3 separate regions of the Homo sapiens genome follow, and regions 2 and 3 are each linked to region 1. The links are contacts of gene promoters, found by promoter capture Hi-C in blood cells and fetal thymus (Javierre and others, 2016). All regions are on one chromosome and are shown on one strand. Each heading gives the region's core, a stretch centred on a gene start or on the middle of the fragment in contact. The rest is flanking DNA. Distances are from core to core; before and after follow the strand shown. Region 1 holds the start of DOCK11 (dedicator of cytokinesis 11). Region 2 has its middle 46 kb from the start of LONRF3. Region 3 overlaps PGRMC1 (progesterone receptor membrane component 1).

Region 1 (4,163 bases), core at 1,482-3,981:
ATGGTCCCCTCACTCTCCAGCCACTCGTGGTTTTACTAACTTTGGTTAACAGCTCTTTGTGAGAGAGAGTCATTTAGGAGCATACATTCCATGTAAGAACTATTTCCTTATTTTTTCGTTGACTAAACTGCTTACAAATAGCATTTGCTAAGGCTCTATGAAGAATCTAAACTTGATTTGTGTGCATAATCTGGGTGTCCTATTGACAAAGACATTCCCATACACACAACCAACCCAGATTGTAAATAATGAAAACAAATGAAGAAAAAGATCATTTGCATTCTCATAATTATAGAGCATCTAGCATTGTGTGTGGCACATTGTAAGGGCTCAATAGATATTCATTGATTTAGATTACTAGAATCTGTTCTCCCTCACTCCCAAAATCTCAATGTGGTTCACATACTAGAGTAATGAGTAAATATTCCTCTGCATTGCCTGGTGTAAACGGTAAAAATCAATGACCTTGGTCCCAAGTAAGCTGGGCTGACAAGGGAACCATGGCCACTGCCAGCGTCTCCTAGAAAAGACTCCTGCCAATAACAGTTTTTCCTCCTTCGCCATAGAATCAATGGTCAGGAAGGAGCCGCTGAACCTACAATGCACAAAATTCTTTTGAAAACCTAAAAACAGGGGAAAGAATGCTAATGTTAACTTTTTGCTGCTAGGGTGGCAGGTCAAGTGCTGATCAAATCCCAGTGGAAGTTTTCTTAGTCCCATTTATTCTCGAGAAATCTGGCCACCTACAGCTTTCTTCACGTGTTGTGGTAGAAGGCCAGCCAACCCCGCTCAAGGAAGGTTTTTTGTTTTCTCTGAATTTAGGAAAGCGTTCTCTGCTAGGTAGATTGAATCACGTGTTAACAATCACCCAAGATGAGAGCCCTGGTATAAATGCTCTGCACACAGCTTGCCTTCCTCTCTTAACTGGCTGTGATGACAGGCAAGGCTCCAATCTGACCTCAACAGGTCCTCACTCCAAAATCAGACTGAAATACACAAGCCAAGTCCATTAAAGTAACATTAAAGGTCTGGATTTAGCTCCACTAAACAGCAGAATTAAACTTTCAAGGGTCTAGCCACAATAAAGAGATTTCTTTAAAGTCACTTAGGTTTGCACAGTTGTAGCTATTAGGGATCAGATCTTTATCTCAAAGGTACATAGTTTACCTTTGATCCTCCTCCAGAACTCCCACTAATGTCAACTTTCTCCACTGTTGGGATCAAGCCCCTGGCCTCCCTTTAATGCTGGGTTTTATTGCTGATTCTACAAGATCAACAGAAAAATTACAAGGAAAAGCTGTGAAGTTCCCTTCCGATGACAAGTTGTTTTAACAAAAAGAGCCCTCTCTTAAACGGTGAAATTTAAACACAGCAAACGACTCGCTGTAAAATGGAGCTGAGGGAGACAAAAACAAACAAAAACAACAACCAAAAAACAAAGTAACAAAACAAACACTAATTAATCAGTCCGATTGCTTATTCAGGGTTTGTTCGCTTGTCCAGGAAACTGGCAACGAGTGTCTTGAAAACAAGAGAAGGGGCAAGTGCCCGTTAGCACCCTTTAGCCTTTCTCCAGAGTCAGACAATCTGGATAAGGCTGAGGGTGCTCTGGGAGGGTTCCCAGGGAGTCAGCGCGCTTTCGAATCCCCATCCCCCAGTCCTGAGCTGTGGGGCTCTGACCCCAGGTCCTCCATCCCTGGACTGACACACCCAGTCTTCCCCCAAATCCCCACGGCACCGTCCCCTTGGTCCCCTTGCCTCTGGAGCGCTCGCGTGTCCCCGAGGGACACACTCTCCCTGCGGTGGATGACCCTGCGCCCACTCTGTCGCAGAACCCCGTTGTTTCTAATGCCCTTCCTCCGCAGCAGCACCCCTTCAACACCCATCACCACCCTCTCTCCCCAGTTGCAGGAGGAAGTCGCTCTGCTTCCTCTGTTCTCACCGCCAGCCCGAGCTTGGGCGCCCGGGGCTTTCTGGGTGGGGTTCTTTTTTGTGTACACAGTGTGTGTATGTGTGCGCGCGAGAGTGTGTGTGCCAAACGCTCATCGCATCCTTCCGCCTAGGCGGCCTCAGGTGCTCGCGGGAGGGGATCAGGATCTCGTCGTGCCCTTGTCCCCGGCTCTTTGTGCCGAGTCCAGAGCAGCGCGAGGTCAGCTCTTTAGCTCACACCCCCGGCCCCGACCCTGGGTGGGAGCCTCCGCCTCCGCCTCCTCCGCAGCCGTCCGAGCCCGGCTTTTGCCCGTCTGCTTCCATCCCGGCGCACGCCTCCGCCGTGCCGGGCGGCCGGAGAGCTGTCAGCCGGCGCCTGGGACTCGGACCCCGGCCGGCGGCTGCCGGTGCGAAAACTTACTGGAGCGGAGAAAGACAGCGCGCGGCGCACCAAGCGGCCGCACTGGCGCCGTTCCTGCCCCTTCCCGCGTCGCTCCCGCCTGGAGCGCGTCCCCCGGGATGCCCCGTCCCCCGGCCACTCACCAGCACCACGGAGCCCCGCACGGCCTCAGACACGCTCTGCCGGAGCTCAGCCGCCGTGCCAGGCTTGCTGAGCCGTTTGGTGAATTTGCGCACTTCGGCCATGGCAGCGGCGGCGGGCGGGTCTCGGCGGGCGGGCGGACCTCGGCGGGCGGGTGGACTCACTGCCCCGGCCCGCGGCGGCCGCGGCCGCTGCTGCTCCCTCTGTTTACTCGCCGGCCGGCCGGCCACATCGCAGCTCGGCGGCGGCGCGGCTCACGCTGCTCCTCCCTCCCACCTCCCACCCGCTGCTCCTCCCTCGTTCCCTCCTTCCCTCCTTTTCTCGCTCGCTTCGCCCGCTCACTGTCCTGCCCCACGGCGTCGGCGGCGGCAGCTCCCTCCCCTAGAGGGCCCGAGCTCCGATCGCCACCAGCCGAAGCAGGAGGGTGTGTCTGATGGGGAAGGGTGTGTAGAGGGGGAGGGAGAACTGGAGGTGGGGGCGAGGGTCACGAGGGAAGAGGGGGGAAGTGGCTACCGCTCGGGCTCCGCCCGCAGCTGATGTTGCTGGTGCAGCCGCATCCGGGAGGGGAGATCTGGGCTGCTTCTTTTTTTCCGCTTGAGTGGGGAGGGCGGGGTGGGGTGGGGGAACAGAGAGGGGTGATGAAATGTCTCCAAGAGTGGGGCGTGCTCCTCTCCCGCCCTAGTGCTCCTCTCCCGCCTCCGAGCTGCAGTGCCCGCAGGAGGGCTGGAGAACTCTCACGTCCCTCCACCCCGCAAGCCCCCAGGGCCCAGGCGGCTAGGGGCTGGAAAACAACGTGGAGCAGCCGCCTTTTGTGTGCTCCTTGGGGAAGGGTCGCACCAATGTCGAAGGACAGAGAGCTGCTTTCCAGCGTGAGCGGCTCGACTGGGTCCCCCTCCTCGCCCACACCGTTTTCCTACTCAGTTGGCTCACCTAACAGGGGGCAACACTGGGGAGAGAGCATGCTTCTGGAAGTGGGAACTTATTGTGGCGGCACCCCTCGCTCCGTCCCCCACGGGGGAGAGCTGGGTGGTGGAGCCTGAGCCTGTGGCAGGTGATCCCTAGGTCAGCACTGACTGCACCAGGAGTGGGGTGGGGGTGGGCATTAGGATGAGCCTGTGGCAGGTGATCCCTAGGTCAGCACTGACTGCACCAGGAGTGGGGTGGGGGTGGGCATTAGGAAGGCCATCTCCCTGGGTTTGGTGGACTTACCAATCTTATAGTAGCTTTTACAAGTGCCCTGCACTCACCTCTCCATTTCCTATTCATCTCCTTACTCTTTTCAGCTTCCAAGAAATTGTTTTTCCAAGAATCAAAGAACATCTCATAACAGGGTATAAAACGAACATGCTTAAGACAGAAATAGGGACGGGAATCTTGAAGTACTAGTGACCCTGTCAGACCTCCTGAAGTGCAGAGTGAAAGGCTCCACTGATGGTGGCAGTTTTCTATCTGGTTATTTCATTTGTTGAGAGTTTGAAAATGGCCCTCAGTCTGGGGGACCGAGCAGCCCTTCTGAAAGCAGTCCTACCACCACCCATCGGGCACTTTCCCCACCCTCAAAGACCAAACAGTCTTTTAGGGGACTTTATTATGGAAACAAGGGCATGCGTGGTGATGGTTTCTTTGAACCCAGAAAAGGCCAAGTCTCTTCGCAGTAAGCCTATTTCAGCCATCCCATCAGTCTCAATAAAGC
Region 2 (4,120 bases), core at 827-3,326, 520 kb before region 1:
TAAGCCTATGGTGCCACATTGGCCTATTTGCTTTCCTTTTATTCCATTATTAGTGTTGCTTTAACAATAGATAAATGTTAGTCAACTTTTAAAATTATGCATTAGCTACAGTGTTGCTTTGTAAACTTCTGTTAAATCGCGTTTGCTGCAAAAACATTTTAAACAACAGCTACAGTCATGAAGCAAAAGCTTTAAAGTGACACCAGGAACAGAGATTACAGGCACTTCTCTCTGGAGGTTAACTTAGCATGTTTGGAAATACACATTTGTAAGTGAAAATTTCTTTATTTCACCTCTGGATGTGTGTAACCCAGATTATTAAATAGTTGTACAGTGTAATAAGGTGGGAGCTATCATTCTAAGATGAATTGAATGTGTACACTTTATGTGGCTCCTTTTCCTTCCTTCTGTTTGAACTCAGAAGGGCCACAAATTGAAGCCCATGCTGCCAGCTGCTTTTTAGAACTGTCTTCTACCATAAATCAAAACCTCACTTAGCCCCAAGAATGGGCTGAAAATCTTCTCTTTTCCATTGTTTGGGCTGCCCTCCATTTGCATCTTTGTCACACACCACTGCTATGGTTCTGCCTTGGTGAGCAGAAATGGATGCGAAGTCAACATGTTGGGAACTCAAAAATGAGTTCCTGAATAAAATTCCCATCTTGGAAATGGAGTTGGTGTGGGGAACACAGACGGATTGCAGTCTGTCAACAGTATGCAATCTGTTGACTGTAAGAGACCTCTGGGTGCTGTGAACTAGCCTCAGGAGCTCCGCCGCTCCAATGGCCAGTCACAGGGGATTATCTGAGCCCAGGCCAGCTCCACAGGTAGAGCTGGAAGCGCCACATGCGCAATGACTCTGCTTGCCCCTTGCTGCTGAGGCAGCACTGGGCTAAAAGCAACCTTCAGAAAAGGCAAACTTTAAAAATTGTCATTCTCTGCCCCGCTAAGTCAGGGGCAGGCACTCTTTTCTCCAGGTTGTCTACAGAAAATTGGTTTTTCATTTTCTACATTTTGCTGGTTATTTGCTAGCAGCAGTAGTACAGTACAAAGCAGAAAGATATGATGTCTGCTTGCTACCTAGTGTATATATATATATATATATATATATATATATATATATATATACACACACACATACACACACACACATACACACACAAAGACATACATACATACATACATACATACAAAATATAACCTACTAGGCAAAGACTGGGTCAGTCATGATAGACAGAAAAACTAACTAAATAAGTGGCACTATCTACTGTGGGGGAAGTCTTATTTTTCTGGCCTAGATTTAGCCTTATGTCTTTCTTCTGTATACCCTTCATTCCCAAGCTGTGCAGCAAAACCAATTTCCCAGTGTAAAAATGTTCAAGACCAATTGATTACCTCGTTAAGGTACATCCCAAAGAAAGCCAAAGCTTAGCCTTGCATCCTGCCTTGCAACTAGACAAAATATTTAACATAGTGGAGGCTCAGTTTTCTCATTCATAATATGGGGATAATAACTGCTCTCGCAGGGTTGGTATGAGAAATAAATGATGTAATGAGCTCAGGTATGTGAGATCACTTGGCTCAGTACCTGGTACATGGGGATCTCAGTACATTTTTTGTTGAATCTGTTACTTTGGGCAACATAAAGAAATACTATCAACTAAGAACAGAAGTCACAGATTGTAAACTCTCATCATCTGGGATGGGTAAGGTTCTCAATACATTTTGGAGAACAGGGAGTGAAAAGTTGGTTATTCTAATGGAGCTAGAACTTAAGGCTTCCATTCTATCAGAAATCCTAGGCTGGGTGCGGTGGCTCACACCCACGCCCGTAATCCCAGCACTTTGGGAGGCCCAGGCAGATGGATCACCTGAGGTCAGGAGTTCGAGACTAGCTTGACCAACATGGTGAAACCCCATCTCTACTAAAACTACAAAAATTAGCCAGGCGTGGTGGTGCGTGCCTGTAATCCCAGCTACTTGGGGGGCTGAGACAAGGGAATCACTTGAACCTGGGAGGCGGAGGTTGCAGTGAACTGAGATCGAGCCACTGCACTCCAGCCTGGGTGACAGAGTGAGACTCAGACTCGCACACACACACACACACACAAAAGAAAGAAAGGAAAGGAAAGGAAAGGAAAAAGAAAGGAAGGAAGGAAGGGAGGGAAAGAGAGAGAGAGGGAGGGAGGGAGGGAACAAAAGAAAAAGAAAGGAAGGAAGGAAGGAAGAAAGAAATCCTAGACCTACATAGGGCACTACCTTCTAGCCCTTATTGAAGCAGGAAAAAAATTTCTGGTATAGGATTGATCCCTATCTCTGACCCTCATTTGTTCTCCAGTTATTTCACTTTCACACACATTTAATTCCCAAAAGAATTATCTGTAAATCATCAAATTATGGGTCCAAAAATCAGTGGTATGTATTCCCCCAACTAAGTTTAAAGGGGTTTCAAGTGGATATTGTGTGTAAAGGCAGTGTTTTATACAAATGTAGGCCCTTGATGATATTCTATAACTATGACTAATCTAATAGTAGCTATTATTTCTTGAGTGCATTCTAGGTGTGAGACACTGTGCTAATTGATTTACACATTATCTCATTTAATTTTCGTAACAACCCTATATGCAGAACTTATCACTATCATTTCATAGATTAGAAAACTGAGGGTTGGCAAAAGTTAAATCAATTGCCAAAAATAATATATCTAATAAGTAGAGAAGCTTAGGGCCTTTTTCTTTGTTGCATTTACACTAGATAACCAGAAACTATTAGGATTGTGTTATGACCACATGGTCTGGGAACCAGGTGGGAGGGGGAGTCTTTTCTGCTCCCTGAGCTTTGTGGAGTTTGCTTGCGCAGAAATAATGCCTATACTTCCGCCTATTTCTGTTCTTCACCTGCCCAGACTAGCTCCAAACATCAAATCTGATAAACACAACACTCTGGCAACATAATGTCCATTAAGTGAGTGCAGAAAAGACCATCTGGTTTCTGCTTACATGCATCTTTTTTATGTTGTCTGGATCATCTCATTCTCCCTTTCCTGTTTCTAGCTACAGGTGGTGATGGGAGAAGTAAGAATTACACTCTCACCTTAACAGAGTGATGGGCTGTGAATGAATGATGCAAAAATCATTCACTGTCCAAAATCACATGGTATAATTTGCATGAAGGTACTAATGGCACAATTCACTTCCTCCCTGCTCTAATCGTTTCACTCTGCCATTATAACACTCCCATACTTGTGGTACTTTACAGGCTGTCCTGCCACTGAAGGACTCAAACTAGCACTAAGCAAGCTAAATCAGGGCTTACTCTTACTCCTCACCCTATATTCTCCCCATACATTGAAATATTTCACCCATGCAACTAGAAGCAAAGGCAGTACTTAGGTAAAATAATAGATTATCTGGTTCCCTTTTTTTTTTTTTTTTTTTTTTTTTGAGACGCAGGTTTGCTCGTTGCCCAGGCTGGAGTGCAGTGGTGCAATCTCGGCTCACTGCAACCTCCATCTCCCAGGTTCATGTGATTCTCCTGCCTCAGCCTCCCAAGTAGCTGGGATTACAGGCATACACCACCAAGCCTGGCTAATTTTGTATCCATTTTTAGTAGAGACAGGGTTTCATCATGTTAGTTAGGCTGCTCTCGAACTCCTGACCTCAAGTGATCCGCCTGCCTCGGCCTCCCAAAGTGCTGGGATTACAGGCGTGAGCCACCGTGCCCGGCCATCTGGTTCCTTTAAAAAGATTTTTATAGGGTTCTACTCTATTTGTCTTATTTACATTTTAATAATAAAAAGTCCTTATCAAGTGTTTCTGTCCAGGTCTTGATCCTCAGAACCCCGGGGAGAGGTGGGTTATGGAGGCTAGTTGGGCATGACTGTGATGTGCTAAACTGAACACCATTTCCTCTGAAGAGTTAATTATGATCCTGCCCAAAATCCGATTCCTAACTGCACTGGGGAAAAATTAGATACACGTACAATTAGATTGCTGAAGTAAATGCCTATAATAAAAATAATTCTTTCAGCTTTGTTCTGTATTACACACAGAAAATGAATTATTTTACTTTACCTTGGCATATACCATAATCTAGGCCAAATCCCTTAAGTATTTTATAT
Region 3 (3,951 bases), core at 93-2,592, 740 kb before region 1:
CAGTGAAAGGAAGGAATAATAGTCTCATAGATGAAGAGGAGAGCAAGAGACAGAACGTTTTTCCCAGCACAGAGAAAAACCTATGGGTGGTTAAAGGAAGTGGTAAAGGAGCCAGGAGATGACTGGAGGTGTTGGAGAAAACAGATGTAAGGGTGCAAACCAGAATGCAAAAGACTTGAGAAGAGATGGCATCAGCAAACCACCTCATCACTGTAGCCAAACTAATGCAGGGTCGATCATCTGAATGTCCAAAGCCAAGAGTCTCCTCTTCCTGAATATGAGTAGGAATTAGAGGAGTAACCAACCTGTCTAACCAGGTAACTAAAGCTGCTTTTGTGTGAAATAACCGTTGGGAACAATTGGAACTGTGTGAGACAAATAAAAGCCAGGTGGCTCCTGGGAAACCTGCCTTAAGGGGAATCCACACCAACTTTAAGTGTAGCTGAGGTGTCACAACAGCATCTGGGGCTAGCCTTAAAGTGGAAAAAAAAAATCACACTTTTTCTCCCACTGATGAAGGCAAGCCCTAGAAAATAGAGCTTTGTAAGTTAGACACTACAATTCACTGGTTTCATATAGAAAACTAATTACAAAGGCATCCTTATGATGCCAAAAATTAGGGACTCTATTAGGTAACTGAACTATGTTTTCCAAAGTATAAAAACTTGCCTCTAGACTTGGAAGTTATATGTAGCCTGCTTGAGACCAAAACTCAAAGGCAGAGACACATCTGGCTAATTATTAATCCAGAACTCTCTCTGAAGTCAGCATTATTTTCAAAGAAAATGGTTGGATATAGCCAAGAGAACATGTAATATTTAACTGATTATAGAGAACACACATAGAAAACTACATTTTAAATGAAAAATCTTCAAATAATGCTCATGGTCTTTATATACTGTTTCATAAAAGCTGGGAAAGACTCTTATTCAAATTCTTGGCAGTGAAATATTGCTAGAGTGACAATTAAACAGTTAGATTTGACAGAAACCAATTCCTGAATTCTCAAAATCTGAACTTAACCCCTCATTCCTATTTCTCCCCAAAGACCTCAGCCCATAGCATAAGCCAGAAACAAGCATCTCCTTTTTACTTTCTTTTTAAAAATGCAGACACCATTGCTGCTGGGCACATTATAAGCATCATTTGTAGATGAGGCCTATAGTTAGGTTCAATTAGATTCAAAGAGAAGCTGTTTCACAGAATACAAGTCTCCCATTCTTCAACAGAGATGTGGGCTGCTTTTAAACGGCAAGCTCTACAAGAGAGGGCTTATGAAAATCCCTTTCTGTAGCCAAGATGGACACTGTCCTTTCCCTGACACACCAAGCACCAAATCCTCATTTGGAATCTAGCAAATCTCTCAAAAATTTTAAAATCAAAACCAGAAACCCAAGTTTCCATAGAGAACTGGCTAAAAATTGGTATGCAATCATAGCAAGTGACTCAGCACTGCTACAATTACTTCAAGCCATGAACTTGATGCGTCCAAGATTAAGGAGCCTATCAAAATGCACCCAAGTTTCAGGCTGCTTAGTAATAACTATTGTCCTGCCACGAATCCCCATTACTGGTAGAAATTTGACCCAGACACAATTTTAAAAATGCTTACAAGTGAACTGAGACTCCCAGTCACTCAGAGTCTCCTGCTGGGCAGCAGTGAGGTCAGAAAGGTCATCGTACTCATCCTTCAGTGCTTCCTTATCCAGGCAAAATGTGGCAAGGCCCCTGGATGCATCTCTTCCAGCAAAGACCCCATACGGCCCCTCTTCAAAAACAAAACCAAAGATCAATTCTTTATTAGACAGTCAATTTCTCTGTGATTTATACACAGAAAATGGCTTCCCTATTCATCAACATAGCCCCATTTTTGAATATCAAATTCCATTAGGAAACCATAGTAATGCTGATATTCTGAACATTATGTAGGAGACACAGAAAGACCTGTTGTCATTTAACTTTTAAATAACTAAAAGTAAATCAAACTGCTATACATTTGCGTCAGTCTCCTGTGGTTTCCAAATAGCTAGTAAAAAAGTCATACGTGGTTAGTGATCTCTTGGGGTAGTGGTAGTAGGGAATCATACAAGAACATTGAACTGGGAGCCTGACAGTTCTAGGCACTTGGGGCTACACCAGTGAGAGTTATGGTTTCTTAAGATAATAAGCACTGATGTGTACATGAAAACACATTTCCTTATGAATATATTCTGATATGTTTTAATGAAACAAAGGTATCTTATAGAGATCTTTGGTTCCAAGGCTCAATTAAACATTAACTCATGGCATCTGCAGAAGAACCATTTTATAACAGTATCGGTGGTTTAAAAATCTATCCACATTACATAACCTTCACTGTCAATAAATAGATAACACAGAGATCAGTCTTCATTATCTGTTTTTTGGTGGGCTTGAGAAGACTGTGAAAATACTAAAATTTTCATGGAAAAGAGGCTGAATCAATACTGCAAAACAACTCTATAAAACAACTCTATAAAATGTGATTATTTGTGATATTATACTGAACTTTTGTCTAAGAGAGCAGAGAATCATTCTGTGGGTACACAAAGTGGATATTTAGACTTATTTAAATATTGCACAACTAAATGAAGAGAATCCAGTGTACTTTAAACAATGTGTTGTTTCCCCCAAGGCAGATTGAATAGCAGCCCTGACATTAAAATGTTTGTAGGGAACCAAGTATGAGAATAGATCAAGTTTCAATATGGCCTGTTCACCTGAAACCTCAATACACTCAGAAATTTTTTACAAATTTTACAACTTTTAAATGCAAGTAAAATTCCAAAGAAAAATGCTTATTTTTAATCATCATTACATGCTGCCACATTCACTAAAGAAGGTAAAAAAAAGCCCACATTTTTCATAAATGTACACCCCTAGTGGAAATGGCAGCACCTAGTGCTTGAGAATAGGCAAATGCAATGGTTTGAACCTTACCATTTCAGAAATTATGGTCATTGGCTTGGTAGAGTGAGTCTTTACCAAGCAAACCTCATAGAATATTTAAACATAGAATATTTAAACCTCATAGAATATTTAAACATTTAAACAATTAAATGTTCTCTAGTGGGAACATTAAAAGTCTTTTAAAAATACATATTATTCAGTGCAACATATATTCACTAGAACGTAAGCTCCATAGGCAGAGATTTGTGTCTGTTTTGCTCACTGCTATATTCCCACATCTACAACAGTGCCTTGCACAGAATTAACAGGCACTAGAATGACTAATTTTTAGGAATCCTTTACAACATGAAGCATCACTTTCTACCAAGATGTCACGTAGTCATGGGCTCACTGAATGACAGTGCAAGATAGAGACAGAGATCTCACAATAGGCCATCTTTATCACTTTTCAGAGGGAAAACTAAGGCTCTGAGAGAACAATGCTTTGCACAAGGTCACACAGCTAGTCATGACCCAATCAGGACTAGAACGCAGGTTGCCTGACTCCCAGTTTTGTGCTCTGTGCACAGGCTGACATCCTCTCAATGACTCTGCAAACTACAGTCATGATGATGCCTCATGCACATGTTTTCACTCCTTTAATATTGAGCTCAATATTAACAGGTATTTACATGATTATGTTTATTGATAAAGCAACTATGTGTGCTACTCTAAGTGACAAATAATGTATGTGGTTTTCAAATGATTTTGACAGTTACATGCCTATAGAAAGCAGGTATTCTAAAATATCCACAGGCCCGGTGCAGTGGCTCATGCCTGTAATCCCAGCACTTTGGGAAATGGAGGTGGAAGGACTGCTTGCGCCCAGGAGTTCGAGACCAGCCTGGGCAACACAGGAGGGAGACCCTGTCTCTAAAAAATAAATAAAATTTATTTTTTATAATAAATAAATGTCTGCAAGAAAAAACTGAGCTCCTTAACCTTAACACATCTGATTTTGATCAGTTGGACTGGGAGACTAAA

Evidence for each region. The method cuts DNA at HindIII sites, captures the fragments that hold promoters and counts their contacts. A CHiCAGO score of 5 or more calls a contact.
Region 2: a fragment that was not itself captured here is called in contact with the fragment with the promoter of DOCK11 in region 1 in 1 of 17 cell types (monocytes); the score reaches 7.0 in monocytes.
Region 3: a contact is called between a fragment that was not itself captured here and the fragment with the promoter of DOCK11 in region 1, in 1 of 17 cell types (activated CD4 T cells). The highest score is 5.6, in activated CD4 T cells.

What each region holds. Positions count from the first base shown.
Region 1 is chrX:118,494,383-118,498,545 of GRCh38, reverse strand. It overlaps DOCK11 (dedicator of cytokinesis 11), which reads right to left and starts at 2,731. Exons shown (of 53, transcript NM_144658.4): 1 at 2,473-2,731. The coding sequence starts at 2,574. RefSeq lists silencers at 2,204-2,263, 2,434-2,493, 2,584-2,663, 2,774-2,913 and enhancers at 1,943-2,921, 3,324-3,393. The HindIII fragment of the contact is 5,195 bases long and covers 1-4,163 here.
Region 2 is chrX:119,018,460-119,022,579 of GRCh38, reverse strand. No RefSeq gene overlaps it. Among named protein-coding and RNA genes, the nearest start is that of LONRF3, 46 kb to the right of the region's middle. The HindIII fragment of the contact is 1,293 bases long and covers 1,430-2,722 here.
Region 3 is chrX:119,238,126-119,242,076 of GRCh38, reverse strand. It overlaps PGRMC1 (progesterone receptor membrane component 1), which reads right to left. Exons shown (of 3, transcript NM_006667.5): 2 at 1,613-1,768. Among named protein-coding and RNA genes, the nearest start is that of PGRMC1, 3.8 kb to the right of the region's middle. The HindIII fragment of the contact is 6,368 bases long and covers 1-3,951 here.